Linked DNA regions of Homo sapiens: region 2 is linked to region 1. Evidence: promoter capture Hi-C in human tissues and cell types (Jung and others, 2019). All regions are on one chromosome and are shown on one strand. The core of a region is centred on a gene start or on the middle of the fragment in contact, and the rest is flanking DNA. Distances in the headings are between cores, read along the strand shown.

Evidence for each region. Contacts are between HindIII fragments. The study calls those that stand out against the background at their distance.
Region 2: a contact is called between a fragment that was not itself captured here and the fragment with the promoter of CISH in region 1, in 1 of the 25 tissues and cell types used here (dorsolateral prefrontal cortex).

What each region holds. Positions count from the first base shown.
Region 1 is chr3:50,608,807-50,616,085 of GRCh38, reverse strand. CISH (cytokine inducible SH2 containing protein) reads left to right here and starts at 4,312. Exons shown (of 3, transcript NM_145071.4): 1 at 4,312-4,455. The coding sequence starts at 4,436. It also overlaps a transcript of MAPKAPK3 not described here. RefSeq lists enhancers at 83-172, 3,794-3,883, 4,793-5,353 and a silencer at 3,964-4,443. The HindIII fragment of the contact is 7,054 bases long and covers 174-7,227 here.
Region 2 is chr3:51,084,953-51,092,231 of GRCh38, reverse strand. DOCK3 (dedicator of cytokinesis 3) reads right to left here. Exons shown (of 53, transcript NM_004947.5): 8 at 2,948-2,989; 9 at 1,848-2,002. Among named protein-coding and RNA genes, the nearest start is that of MANF, 300 kb to the left of the region's middle. The HindIII fragment of the contact is 4,069 bases long and covers 1,447-5,515 here.

The sequences.
Region 1 (7,279 bases), core at 3,063-5,562:
GGTACCAGGACCTCGGTTCCACTCAGAGGCGTCTTCCAGCCATCCTACTCTTGGCTCCGGAATTTAGGCCCAGTGAGCGCCTCCCCCTCAGCCCCTCTGGTTAACACACGCACACTCACGGACCCCTGGGCTGCATGTGCAGGCTCATCAGAGAAGTAGCTCTTGGAAAGATGATCTTCTGTCAATGAATGAGTGAATGAGTGACTGAAAGGGTGCTACAACTTATTAGTGGGTACCCACTGTGTGCAGATGTTGAGTGGAGATGGGGTTGGGGCTCTGCCCCTATTTCTTTCAGGCAACCTTCAAGCTAGCAGTGTTCAGTGAAGCAGGAGGCTCCAGACAATAGCCTCAGCTGGCCATAGTGAACACTTCTTGCAGACCAGATGCTGGGAATGTGCTCTCCCTGCAACCCCCTGACCTTACAGAGCCTAGAGGAGGTCACACTATCCCTTCTGCCCCACACTACAGACACACAGGACAGAAAAGCCCAGAGAGGTTAAGTGACCTGTCTGAGGTCAGCAGCTGTCATGACAGAGCCCCCATTCCAACTCCAAAGCACAACCTCAGGGCTGGGCTCTTATCCTCAAACCATGGCCTCCTCTCCTAGTCCTTTCTGGCTCCTCACACAGCCACATGTGCAAACATACTCTCACACATGTACACATGCAGTCACACCTTTACACATGTGCACACACATGCATATAACACGTATAAACACACATGCATATAACACACATGCACACAGATACACATGCACATGTGCACACACACATGCATTTATGCCCAGCTGGACCCAGGATTGATGTCCCTGAGCCCAACCTGAGAATCTGATTCAAGATCTCAGAGCCTCTTTGAAAGCCCTATGATCTGGAATCTTCTACTGCTGGGGGGAGCCAAAGAAGGCTCTCTGCTCTCTGAAGGCAACTAGTTTGAGCCTGGTGAACCTGAGGCTGAGCAAGATGTCATTCTGGTGAGCAGAAGGCTAGGCAGCTGAGGGTGGAGGCTGGCTCCTTGCCCCAGCCAAAGGCATCCCACTGAATGTTCTGTGAAGATGTCTTCTTTCTTTAAAATGGAATTAGATTATAATTGCTCTACAAATTTTATAATTGTATTTTTTAAGCTGGTCTCTTTTATTAAAATTTTAAGTTGCATAAGTAAAACTTCCTCATTGTAATTAATTCAAATTATACAGAAGTATGAAAAGTAAGGCAAAGGTGCTGCTTCTCCCCTCCCAGTCCCTATAACCAGTGTCCATGCTTCCACAGGCACACGCATTCCCCACATGGGTCCATCGGAGAGATGCCTTGAAACTACTCACTTAGCCCAGGAAAGTCAGAATATGTGGTTTCCCTTAGTGCTCATGTTCCAGCAACCACCTGCAGCATCCCCTCCACAATGATGGGAGGATTTGGCATGCAGGATGGCTAGGTCTGGTCAGGAGTGGGTTCATGATGGCAGACTCTGCCACACAGCCCTTCATGTAGCTGTGTGTCCAAGGGGACAGAGACTTTGGAATAGCTTAAAGTGAGGGGGGCTAAATCCTACACACACACACACACACACACACACACACACACACACACACTCTGTCCTTACTGGAGAGGGGAGGCTGTACATGGTGAGAGGATGGAGGCCAAATGAGCGAGACTTTTGGGAAGGCACTGCTGTGTATTCTTGTGATTCATCTTGTGATTGTTCTGGGTAGGGAGTGGCAGGGGAATCTTGCAGTAAGTTCAATCCCTGGGGTGCAGGAGAGGGATTATCCTAGAAGAGAAGAATCTATGGAAATTTGGCTAGTGAGGGCATGAGAGGGGGCACCGCTAGGTGGCAGTGTGGGCCCAGCAATCAGAGCCAGGGTTTCTAGGGAGCAGCCAGGGCAGGAGAATTAAGTACTAAGTTGGCCAGAGGGACCCAACTTAGTACTTGGGGCAGAACAGGGGCACATCACTGTTCCCAGCATGCAGGTGAGGTGCACAGTGCTGTCATATTCACACACACACAAAAATAGTTGGAAGGCCAAAACCCTTGGAACCCTTTGGTTTACACATAGACTGCATAATCACTGACCTGTAGGAGATACTTTCAAAGGGACACCCATGGTGCTCTGACATGGACAGGCCTGGGGGCAGAGAAGCTTCACTGAGGACCTTAAAGCTGGATGTCTAGGAGTCGGCAGATCACCAGCACCCATAGAGGAAGTAGGAGGAAGTGTGTAGGCTCCTGGCTTAAACCATTACTTGCCAGCTGGGAGATCTAAGTTATATTGTAACCTCTCCATGCCTCAGTTTTCTCACCTGTAAAGAGGAGATAATATGTGGTAGTTGTGACAATGACATGAGGCTGCAAATTGCTGAGAGTGCTTGACACATAGTAAGTGTTCAGTTGAATAGTCATGGTGAGGGGGAAGAAGTATAGTTTTGGTAGAGAGCTTGGGATTTGGCCCCATAAGAGACCCAAGTTCAAAATTGTAACTCTGTTGCCTGGCAGCGGCAAAGTCCTTTTGTCTTCATAGTAATGAGACAGTGGACAGTTCCTACTGGCAAGTCAGTGGTCCACACAGGGGCCGCATATCAGGCTATCCAGGTATCCCAGCCCTCAAAGTGGGTTATAAGGTATCCATCCCCCCTACCCCCATTCCAAGAAAGTGGCTTCTGGCCAACTCAGGAGGGGGCTGGCAGAGTTGCACTCATGAAGCCCGGCTTCCCTTCAGGAAAGCTACAGAGAAGTGACTGCCCTGAAATCTGAAACTTAACGTTTTTTCCCCAGTTTCACAGGGTTTTGCTTTCAGGTTTCTTTTGCCCTCTGCCATTCTGGGCAGAGCAAACTGAGCCCTGTCTTCCCTGGATGCTATCGTTCAGGCCCTTCAACAAGGCCAGGGGTCTGTCATCCCTGCCCAGGATCTCAGAGCTAGACTCCTTTCTGGGGACCCTGGGGGCACACACTGGGAGGGGGATGGGGGTGGGGAGTGGACCCTGCAACCTCTCCAAATCCCACAGTTCTTCTGGCCCAAGGGTTTGGAGGAGATTCACAGACCCTACAGTCCTTCAAGATGCTCCATAGTGAATCCAGTGAACTGAAAAAAGGTGGAGAGGGTCCTGGTAGGAGCGTGGGCTTCTGATTCAGAGCTGGGACCAAGCTCTTACCCTGCCATTTCCTAGCATTTGTTCCCTGGGGCTGTCTTCTGTCCGCATAACGGGAGCAACACCAGTTGTAGAGGATCAAATGCAGCAAGTACTCCCTGTAGATAAGAGCGAGTGTTACTACTCTGCCCCCGCCATCCCGCCCCAACCTCTATCACCCTACTCCCAGATTATCTCCCTATGTTTTGAGTTGCAGGACTCTCTCTCAGCATTTTTTTTCTGGCGGGGGGTGGGGGTGGTACCAACCCAGAGTCCGGGCCATCTGGGGCTGTCTCTGCTTGCTTTCTCAAATCTGTAGTCTCTTCTCCCCTGACTGGCAGGGCCGGCCAGAAACCAGTGCCAGCCAAGACTGGATGGTCTGCCTGATTCGAAAAGTTGGGGCGTGCTTTCTCCTTCAACTCTTTCAAAGAAAACGTTCTTGTCTGGATCTTTCTGGCTGTGGTGACCGCCGGCTTGACCTCAGTGGACCCACTCATTTCTGGAACTGTCCTCTGCACCCCGCCCTGCCCTAAGTCCCGCTCCAGATCTCACCCCATGCCACCCAATCCGACACCCGACACACAGAGTCCTAGGGTCCAGGAGCGGCCGTCCCAACACGGGGCGCTTGCACACGCCGACAGACCTCCTTGGAGGAGCCGCTCGCAGGGAGGACAAGCCCGGGACTCCGCCCCCCGCCCTGCCACGAGTTCCACCGCGAGATAAGAGGGCCCTTCCCCAACGACGCAGAATGCCAGAAGGCAATCTGGGCGCGGGTTGCTGAGCCCGGGCCCCTCCTTAACTTCCCCGACCCGGTCTTTCCCCACTGATCTCTCCGACCTGCCCCTCTGGGTAGCTTCAGCCCCGGGTCCACGCGCTGCTATTGGCCCTCCCCGACCGCTCGGCTCCACCTTCAGCGTCGCGATTGGTCAGCTCGCGGGGCCCCGCCCCGTTTTCCTGGAAAGTTCTTGGAAATCTGTCAAAGTATTTCCTTTCACTGCTCAGGGCCCCAGACCCGGCGACGGGGCCCGCGCACCCCGCCCGGGCCCCACCGCTCAGCCCGCGGTTCTAGGAAGACGCTGCTTCCGGGAAGGGCTGGAACGCGGCAGACAAAGGATTAGGCAGCAGCTCGCCCCGCCCCGCTCGTCTGGCCCGCCCCCCTCGCCCTCGCAGGCGGTCCGCGCCACTGCCTCTCAGTCCCTGTCCTGCGCCCGCGCGCCCCGGGAGCCTACCCAGCACGCGCTCCGCGCCCACTGGTTCCCTCCAGCCGCCGCCGTCCAGCCGAGTCCCCACTCCGGAGTCGCCGCTGCCGCGGGGACATGGTCCTCTGCGTTCAGGGGTAAGCGCGGCTCTCTGCCCCCTTCCCGGCCACCACGAGGGGCGCACGGGAGAACAGGGGCTTCGTGCTAGCTGCCGGGCATTGGGAGGGCTTGACGGGCCAGAGGTGACTGAGCGCAGACGGACCTCAGGAGCAAGGCTCTGTGTGGGGCTGTGACACTCCCACTCCCCGCCCCCACACACTTACCTCAATTCCCACTGTGGATTGGGAAACCGGGGGCTGGCCGGCTAAAGGAGGAACTCACAGGGTGGGCTCAGCCTGGGTTCTCATTGGAGCAGATGGATGCTAACGGCACGGCGTCCCCCAAGATGTGGCCAACAATCCCAGATATTCTTCTGGGCCCAGAGCACTCTACGCTAGCCTGCCTGCTGCCCTGCCTGCTAGTAACCTTGGACCAGCCCCTGGCCCCCTCTGTCCTGGTGTCCCCTCTCCTGCCCCAGGCTAGCAAGTAGGCTCTTCTTGGGAAGCCAGCCGCAGATCCTTGCCTTTCCTCAGGCTGGCACCTGATGGTCTGCAACTCTCGGGAGGCCCTGGGTTTGGCCTGGTCCTGCTTGGGGTACCCCCACAATCGTCTCACAACCCTGTCTCAGCCCAGTCTGGGATCCCAATGTGAGAAGGACCTTGGCTCCTGCCTCTCATCTTCAAATTTCCCAGACTTGAGGTAAGGGACAGTGGAGAGGGGATGCTGATAAGACAGAGTCTTGACCTGAGCTGAGCATTCCTGGCCATCCACTCTGTCCTGAACCTCAGCAACCCCTTCAACCAAAGGGTCTGATGCTGGCCATGGTGATGTGACAGGAGCTCAGGAAGCTCCAAGGAGAGAGGAAGAAGGTATAAATGGGTGTTCTGCACTCAGGGAGGACTGGGTGGCTGTGCTTATCGCAACTGGCCTGGTGCCAAGTGAGGGAGGGTGGAAGGTGAGGCCAAGGAAGAGGACATGGAGGTGCTGGGAAGACTACTTCTCCCTTGCTGTCTCCAGCAAGTTCCTTCCTCCTGTCTGCATTCTGGGACTCCTGAATACCTGCCCCACCACTGCCTTCCACCCCAGGAGCCTCCCCCTGCATTCCGGGGTCCCATAGCCTCTTTCACTTTTTACCCTAGGTGAGCACCCCCTTGTAAGCTCAGGGCTACTGTTGGGTGTCAGGGAACAAAGTTTTAGACTGCTGCGCTCCAAAGCGGGCACACACATGTACCTAGAACACACCAGCCACTGTCCCCACCATGATGATGACACAGCCATGGACACACCCCTGCCCAGGTACACACTCACCAGGAGCTTGTGGTGATCAACACAGCTATTCATACACCCAGCTACCACATCAGCCCCAAAGGTGCCCACACCTACATGTGGGATCTGAGGACCGGCTAAGCTATCTGGACGTGGCCACCCACAGAGGTTCCAGCCTGACTGGCTAGCCACCAACCATGCTCCTGGGAAGGTAGCTCTGGGCCCCAGCAAGCAGGTCATCTCAAAATTTGGCCTCCAGCTCTCCAAGAGGGATTTCCAAGATCCCACAGTACAGCCAGGGTAGGTGTGGAAAAGTTTTTGTCAGGCTGTGGTGTGCCAGAGTTGTGTGGCCCTTTCTCACTGTGAGTGGTCATAGGGCCATGATTTGTTAGAACCTAGAGGGTCACCTATAACCTACACAGGAGTCAGGTCTGGCTCCTGCCACCAGCTCCTGCCTGCGCCTTCCTGCCTCACAAGCAATACTGGCGCTGTTTGCCCATGCTGTCCTCTCTACCTGGGGTCCCTTCCCCCAGCTCCTTCCTTTGGCCTGGAAGACACAGCTCAGGAGCAAGCAGACCCTGACTCCCCCGTGACACCTGCAGTTTTATGACTTTGCATTATAATTACTCTTAGTGTCATCTTCCCCAGCCAGTCTGGTTCTCCTTGAGGGCAAGGCCATGGTTTCATTATGGCGGTGTCCTGAGGCCCAGCCAGGGACTAGACCCAGAACTAAGGCTTGGAGATGTATTTTGCAAGGAGTGAGGGAGGAGCAGCTGTCTTCCTGGGGAAGTAGAGCCAGTCCCTGCTGCCCTCCCAAGGAGGAAGCCCTAGTATCACCCTGCTGGGTGGGCTTCCCCTAGGAGAAAGCTGCTACTCAGATTTTGGTCGGCTCAGTTCCCCCAACCCCAGCCATCCAAGAATATGGTGTTACTGAACCTCTCAGTGCATGGGTTGGTGGGACCCTTTATTGCGGAAAAGGGAAACTGAAGCCCAGTGAAGAGCAAGCTTTGTACAAGATCGTAGAGCCTGGTAGGGCTGGCTTGCCAGGGTGGGAACTGGAGTGTGGATTAGGTCCCTGCCCTTGGTGGGAGCTCATACTGACAGGAGGTGAGACTTGCCAGTGCCTTTAGAGGCCACTGTCCACCCCAGACCCTCCACTGGGAGAAGCAGAGGCCAGGATAGGCTGACTTGTATGGGTAGGGGATTATTTCAGTCTCTAAGTCCTGGCCAGTGTGGACCTAGGTCCCTCTGAGAGACACTCCTATCCATGGGGAGGTAGCGTGTGACCTCAGGCAGCCTACCATAATCCTGGGGCTTCTCTGGAGGACCCCACACAGATCTATCATAGGATAAATCTACTTGTCTGTCGTAGATCTATCTCAACTAGGACCATTCATCAGTGGGCCATTTAATCAGCCCACTTCAGCCAGGAGGGCACAAACATGAAGCTACTTTGCACTGAATCCTATCAGTGTGGTGAGAACATTAGACATGCCTATAGGGAATGATCTGTGTTTTTGGTTGATATAAAATAGAGAGCAATTAATTACTGTTTAGTAAATGCAGGGCAGTGGAAAAGAATCTTTCAAAAGAGGA
Region 2 (7,279 bases), core at 2,232-4,731, 480 kb before region 1:
GGGGTGGGACCTGCCAAACCAGACCACTTGGCTTCCTGGCTTCAGCACCCCTTTCCAGAGGAGTGAACAGTTCTGTATCACTGGCGTTCCAGGTGCCAATGGGTTATGGAGAAAAACAAACTCCTGCAGCTAGTTTGGTGCCTGCTCAAACAGCTACCCAGTTTTGTGCTTGAAACCCAGGTCTCTGATGTGTTAGGCACCAGAGGGAATCTCCTGGTCTGCGGGTTGCAAAGACCATGGGACAAGCGCACTATCTGGGCCAGAGTGCACAGTTCGTCAGGCTCAGTACCTCATGGCTCCCCTTGGGTAGGGGAGAAAATTCCCCAACCCCTTGCACTTCCCAGGTGAGGCAATGCGCCACCCTGCTTCGGCTTGCCCTCCATGGGCTGCACCCACTGTCCAACCAGTCCCAGTGAGATGAACCGGGTACCTCGGCTGAAATGCAGAAATCACCCGCCTTCTGCATCAATCTTGCTGGGAGCTGCAGACCAGAGCTGTTCCTATTCAGCCATCTTGCCAACAATCCATCTTTTTTTTTTTTTTTTTTTTGAGACCAAGTCTCACACTGTCAGCTGGGCTATAGTGCAGTGGCACCATCCCGGCTCAGTGCAACCTCCGCCTCCCAGGTTGAAGCGATTTTCCTGCCTCAGCCTCCTGAATAGCTGGGCTTACAGGAGCCCGCCACCACGCCCAGCTAATTTTTTGTATTTTTGGTAGAGATGGGGTTTCACTATGTTGGTCAGGCTGGTCTCAAACTCCTGACTTCGTGATTCGCCCTCCTCGGCCTCCCAAAGTGGTGGCATTACAGTCGTGAGCCATTGCTCCTGGGCCACAATAATGGAATAGTTTTATCTGTTTCATATATTGGACTTTTTCATAAAATGTAGCTTGAAGAAAGGATTTTTACACACACATACACACTCTCACACACACAAATAAAGTTTACAAACATCTGGATAGTAGGAAAAGAAGAGCAGCCAGAATCTATATCCACACAGCCCTGGCCTGTAGTCTTGCCTACATGCAACAGTTTTAGCTTTCATCAATACCACTACTACCTTCTCTACAATAACTTTCCCAAGGGCACATACTAGGAGCCATTGGTGATAAGGAAAATTCACATGTCCTGATCAATGGGTGCATCATTTTATTCCTATGCCAAAGTAAAGCATAGTGTATTAATATTTTTGTCAAGATCAGAGGCACTGTGGGGCATATAAATTAACTGTTTTTCTTTTGCATTCTGTTATAACTTCCATTTCTAATTTTCCCACATATAATATATAATTGGAAAAGTGAAAAATCTGCTTTCGAATTTTAAGTACTAAAGCAAGTAAAAGCCATAAAGCACTCCTAACACAAGAAGTTCCCAAGCAATATAAAAGAAACTCAGAAGATGCTCTCCTTTCATGGGCTGCCCAGACAAGACACCATCAGCCCCCTTTTTCTTCAAACCCTCTCTTCCACATGCAGCAAGCCAAGGCCCAGGGCTTCCTGCACTCTGGAGCTGTGTGTCTCTGCTGCATTTGTTTGGTTCTATGTTTCTCCTATGCCTTTTTTGTGGTATTAAATAGATGCATCCTTTTCTCTCTGTGAGGTGGTGATAGCCAAGACTCGATTTTGAGCTTCTATGTGGAAAAAGTCATAAAAAAGGCAGCCACCCATGGTATGGTTTACGTGACTTAAGGGCACACAGGGAATTGGGGCCAAAACTCCTAGCTAATGAGATGAGGTTACTTTATCTTGTTTTGCCTCTTCTGTGCATCTGTCTTCTCTGATGGCCAGAGATGCCTATGACCCATACCATCCTAACATAGAACCTCACCAGAATTTCCAGTGACTCTCACCTGATCTGCTTGCCTTCCCTCATGTCATATAAGGAAAAGAAGACATCGGTATCTTCCCCAATAGTATTGTAAGTGAAACTCTTCAGGCTGAGGAAGAAGTGATGTGGCACTGGCATCCGACATGTTTCCCCATGACGTGGGCGCATTGTATCTACCTAATGAGGAAGAAAAAAACCCAGTGATTTTTATTTTAGTTATTTTTTATATTGATCATTAAAAAGTGGAAACTAAATTACAAACTCTTTTCACACTACTGAAGGAGATTATTTGAGAAACTGAAGATGTTTTCTCTGCTTGTAGGGGATGCTGCATCAACAGACTTGGGTTGAGGTGGGCAAGCAAGCAGCTGGGAGGAGTAAACAGTGAAGAAATATAGGGACAGTAATTCCAACTTACAAGTGAACTAAAAATCTCCACCAGGTGACAAATATCTTAGTTCTCCAGGAAACCATTTTCTTTTTCCTTTTTTTTTTTTTTTTTTTTTTTGAGACAGAGTCTCACTCTGTCACCCAGACTGGAGTGCAGTAGCATGATCTCGGCTCACTGCACTCTACTCCCGGGTTCAAGCAATTCTCCTCCCTCAGCCTCCTGAGTAGCTGGGATTACAGGCACCCACCATCATGCCCAGCTAATTTTTTTATTTTTAGTAGGTTTCACCATGTTGACCAGGCTGGTCTCAAACTCCTGACTTCAGGTGATCCACCTGCCTTGGCCTCCCAATGTGCTGGGATTACAGGCATGAGCCACCACGCCCAGCCCGGAAAACCATTTTCAAACTCATTTTAAAGAAATGCCATTATGACCCCAATGCGCTTGATTTACACTGTTACCTCGTAATAGTTACCATTCTAAATAACATTTTTATTTTCTCCCAGACTGATTCATTTTAGTTTCAGTCTGCTTTAATTGTGCTTATGCAAATCTGCACAGTAGAAGTAGAGTCTGGCCAAAACTGTTTAGAGGTCAAAGCTCCTCAGATAAAGACACCACACAGTCAAGAAGTCAGTGGTGTCTGTCATTTCCTGGTGTATTCATATGTTGTAATCTCTTAACAGAAAAAGTTGAGGGGAAAGGCTGGAAGACCCAGGAAAGCCGCTTACCTGGGATGTGCTTTGCTGTACACTCTGCCGGCTAGATAAATGCTATGGAAAGAAGGAAAGAAAAATAAACTCTACCGGGAAAGAAACTAAATTTTATTAAGAACTTTCTATATGCTGGGCAGTCTGCTATGCCTTTTATATTCATGATCTCATTTAATTCTGATAACTTTGTAAAATAAGTGTTATTCGTATTTGGTGGAGACAACTAAGGCTTAGAGTATGGACGTAATTTGCTGAAGGTCACATAGCAAGAAAGTGGCAAAATCCAGATTCAAACCTGAGCCCTTCCAGATCTGACTAACAGACAAGTCACAAGTCGGTGCCTGGTACTAAATTTTTGCTTTGCCACTGTCCTCTCCATATACTGTACCACTTTCTGAGCTGCCTGATCCAGCTTCTTCAGACTTTCCACAATGATGCCTTTAACAATAAAGGGCTCCCTCCCAAACACTTCCCCATGCTGTTCCTTTACTGCTGGCTGGCTGAAATGAGAAGAAGCAGATTCTAATTCAAGCTTTGCCACTCAAAGACTGTGAAATTTCAGACAAATCACTTAATCTCTCCAGGAGACATTTTCCTGAACATAAAATTCAGATAAGAGCCTGTATTATCTTCCTTACAAAGTTATTGTGAAGCTCAAATTACATGAGCATCACTATGATATAGAAGTTAGGGACCTAAGTGCAGAAGTGAGAATCCTAGGTTTTCAATTTTTTAAAAATGTTTAAATTGATACATAATATTTTAAAATATTTATGAAGTACATGTGATATTTTGATACATGCATACAATGTATAATTATCAAATCAGGGTATTTAGAATATTCATTGCCTCAAACATTTATCATTTCTTTCTGTTGGGAACATTTCAAATCTTCTCTTCTAGCTACTTTGAAATGTAGAATAAATTACTGTTAACTACACTCACCCCACTGTGCTATCAAACACGAGAACTTATTCCTTCTAACTAGATGTTTGTATTTGCTGAGCAACCTCTCTTCAACCCCACCACCCCACGATTCTCAACCTTTGGTAACCACTTTTTTATTCCCTATCTCCAAGAGATGCACATTTTTTTGTTTTTGTTTTTGTTTTTTAGCCCCTACATATGATAGAACATGAGATATTTGTCTTTCTGTGCCCGGCTTATTTCATTTAACATATTGACCTCTAGTTCCATCCATGCTGCTACAAATGACAGTATTTCATTCTTTTTATGGCAGAATAGTATTCCATTGTGCATATATGCCACATTTTCTTCATCCTTTCATCTGTTAACAAACACTTAGATTAATTCTATATCTTGGCTATTGTGAACAGTGCTGCAATAAACACAAGGGTGCTGGTGTCTCATTTATATACTGATTTTTCTTTCTTTTTGATAAATATCCAGTAGTAGGACTGCTGGATCAAATGGTGGTTCTGTTTTGTTTTTTGGGAAGTCTCATACTGTTTTCCATAGTGGCTGTACTAATTTACATTCCCACCAACAGTGTATAAGAGTTCTAAGTATATCAGTATATCAGTTCTAAGAGATTTTTAGTAGTCTTTAGGTTTTTCTATATATAAGATTATATCATCTACAAAGAGGAACAATTTGACTTCTACCTTTCCAATTTAAATGCCTTTTATTTCTTTCTCTTGCTTGATTGCTCTGGCTAGGACTTCAAGTACTATGTTGAATAGGAGAATTAAAAGTGGGTATCTTTGTCTTGTTCCAGTCTTAGAGGAAAGTATTTCAGCTTTTCCTCATTCAGTATGATGTCAGCTGTGGATGTGTCATATACAGCTTTTATGCTGAGGTATTTTCCTTCCATGTCTAACTTGTTGAGAGTTTTTAACAGGAAAAGATGTTAAATTTTATCAAATGCTTTTTCTGTGACTATTGAGATGATCATATTGTTTTTGTCCTTCATTCTGTCAATGTGATGTATCACACTGATTGATTTGCACATGTTGAACCACGCTTGCATCACTGGGATAAATTCCATTTGATTATGGTTTATAATCTTTTTGACATGTTGTTGGATTCAATTTGCTAGTATTTTGCTGAGGATTTTTGTGTCTGTATTTATTGTGTTCATCAAGGATACTGGCCCATCTTTTTTTTCTTGTGTCCTTGTCTGACTTACTATCAGTGTAATGTGTAACGCTGGTCTCATAGAATGAGTTAGGATGAATTCTCTCTGCCTCAATTTTTTGGAACAGTTTGAAAAGAGCTTGTGTTAGTTCTTCCTTATAAGTTTGGTAGAATTCAGCAGTAGAGCCATACAGTTCTGGGGTTTTCTTTGCTGAATGACTTTTTATTACTGATTTGATCTCTTTTCTTGTTACTGGTCTATTCAAGCATTTCATTTCTTCATGATTCAATCTTGGTAGATTGTGTGTGTCCAGGAATTAATCCATTTCCTCTAGGTTTTCCAATATGTTTGCATATAATTGTTCATAGTAGTCTCTAATGATTCCTTGTTTTGTTTTGTTTTGTTTTTGGGATGAGTCTCACTCTGTCGCCCAGGCTGGAGTGCAGTGGCAGAATCTTGGCTCACTGCAACCTCCACCTCCTGGGTTCAGGTGATTCTCCTGCCTCAGCCTCCTGAGTAGCTGGGATTACAGATATGTGCCACCATGATCAGCTAATTTTTGTATTTTTAGTAGACATGGGGTTTTGCCATGTTGGCCAGTCTGGTCTTGAACTCCTGACCTCAGGTGATCCACCTGCCTTGGCCTCCCAAAGTGCTGGGACTCCAGGAGTGAGCCACCATGCTGGCTGATCCTGTGTACTTCTGTGGCATCAGCCACAATGTATCCTTTTTTGTTTCTGACTTTATTTTGGACTGCTGGGAACACCCTAAAATCTGGCCATAAACTGGCCCCAAAACTGGCCATAAACAAAATCTGTGCAGCACTGCGACATGTTCATGATGGCCATGATGCCCACACTGGAAGGTTGTGGGTTTACTAGAATGAGGGCAAGGAACACCTGGCCCATCCAGGGTGGAAAACCACTTAAAGGCGTTCTTATATCACAAACAATAGCATGAGCGATCTGTGCCTTAAGGACATGCTCCTGCTGCAGATAACTAGCCAAACCCATCCCTTTATTTTGGCCCATCCCTTTGTTTCCCATAAGGAATACTTTTAGTTAATCTATAATCTATAGAAACAATGCTTATCACTGGCTTGCTGTTAAGAAATACATGGGTAAATCTCTGTTTGAGGCTCTCAGCTCTGAAGGCTGTGAGACTCCTGATTTCCCACTCCACACCTCTATATTTCTGTGTGTGTGTCTTTAATTCCTCTAGTGTCACTGGGTTAGGGTATCCCTGACTGAACCGGTCTCAGCATGGACCTTCTTTTTTCTCGATTAGTCTAGTGGTTTATCGATTTTATCTTTTCAGAAAACCAACTTTTTGTTTCGCTGATCCTTTGTATTGTTTTTTTCAGCTCTATTTTGTTTAGTTCTGCTCTGATCTTTATTACTTATTTCTACTAACTTTAGGTTTAGTTTGTTTTTCCTTTTTTGGGGTCCTTAAGGCACACCATTAGGTTGTTTATTTGAAATCTTTCCAATTTTTATGTAGGTATTTATTACTGTAAACTTCCCTCTTAGTACTGCTTTTGCCATATCTCACAGAATTTGGATATGTTGTGTTTCCATTTTCACTTGTTTCAAGCAAGTTTTTAATTTCCTTTTTAATTTGTTCATTCACTCATTGCTTATTCAGGAGCATGCTGTTTAATTTCCATGTGTTTATACAGTTTACAAAGTTCCTCTTTTTATTGATTTCTAGTTTTATTTCCCTGTGGTCTGAGAAGATACTTGACATGATTTTGATTTTTCAAAATTTGTTGAGACTTGTTTGTGGCCTAATATGTGCTGTATCCTGGAGTATGTTCCATGTGCTGATGAGAAAAATATGTGCTCTATACTGTTGAATGAAATATTTTGTAATGTCTGTTAAGTACATTTGTTCTATAGAACAGAGTAAGCCTGATGTTTGTTGACTTTCTGTCTGGATAATCTGTCCAGTGCTGAAAGTGTAATGCTGAAGTCCCCAACTATTAATGCATTGGGGTCTGTTGAACTCTTTTGCTCTGATAGTATTTGCTTATATATCTGGGTGCTGTGGTATTGGATGCACATATATTTACAACTGTTATATCCTCTTGCTGAATTGATCCCTTTATCATTACATAATGACCTTATCTATTTTTATGTTTTTTGATGTAAAGTCCATTTTCTCTGATATAAGTATAGCTATTATTGCATGCTTTAGGTTTCTATTTGCATGGAATTTTTTTTCCATCCCTTCACTTTCAGTCTATGTGTGTC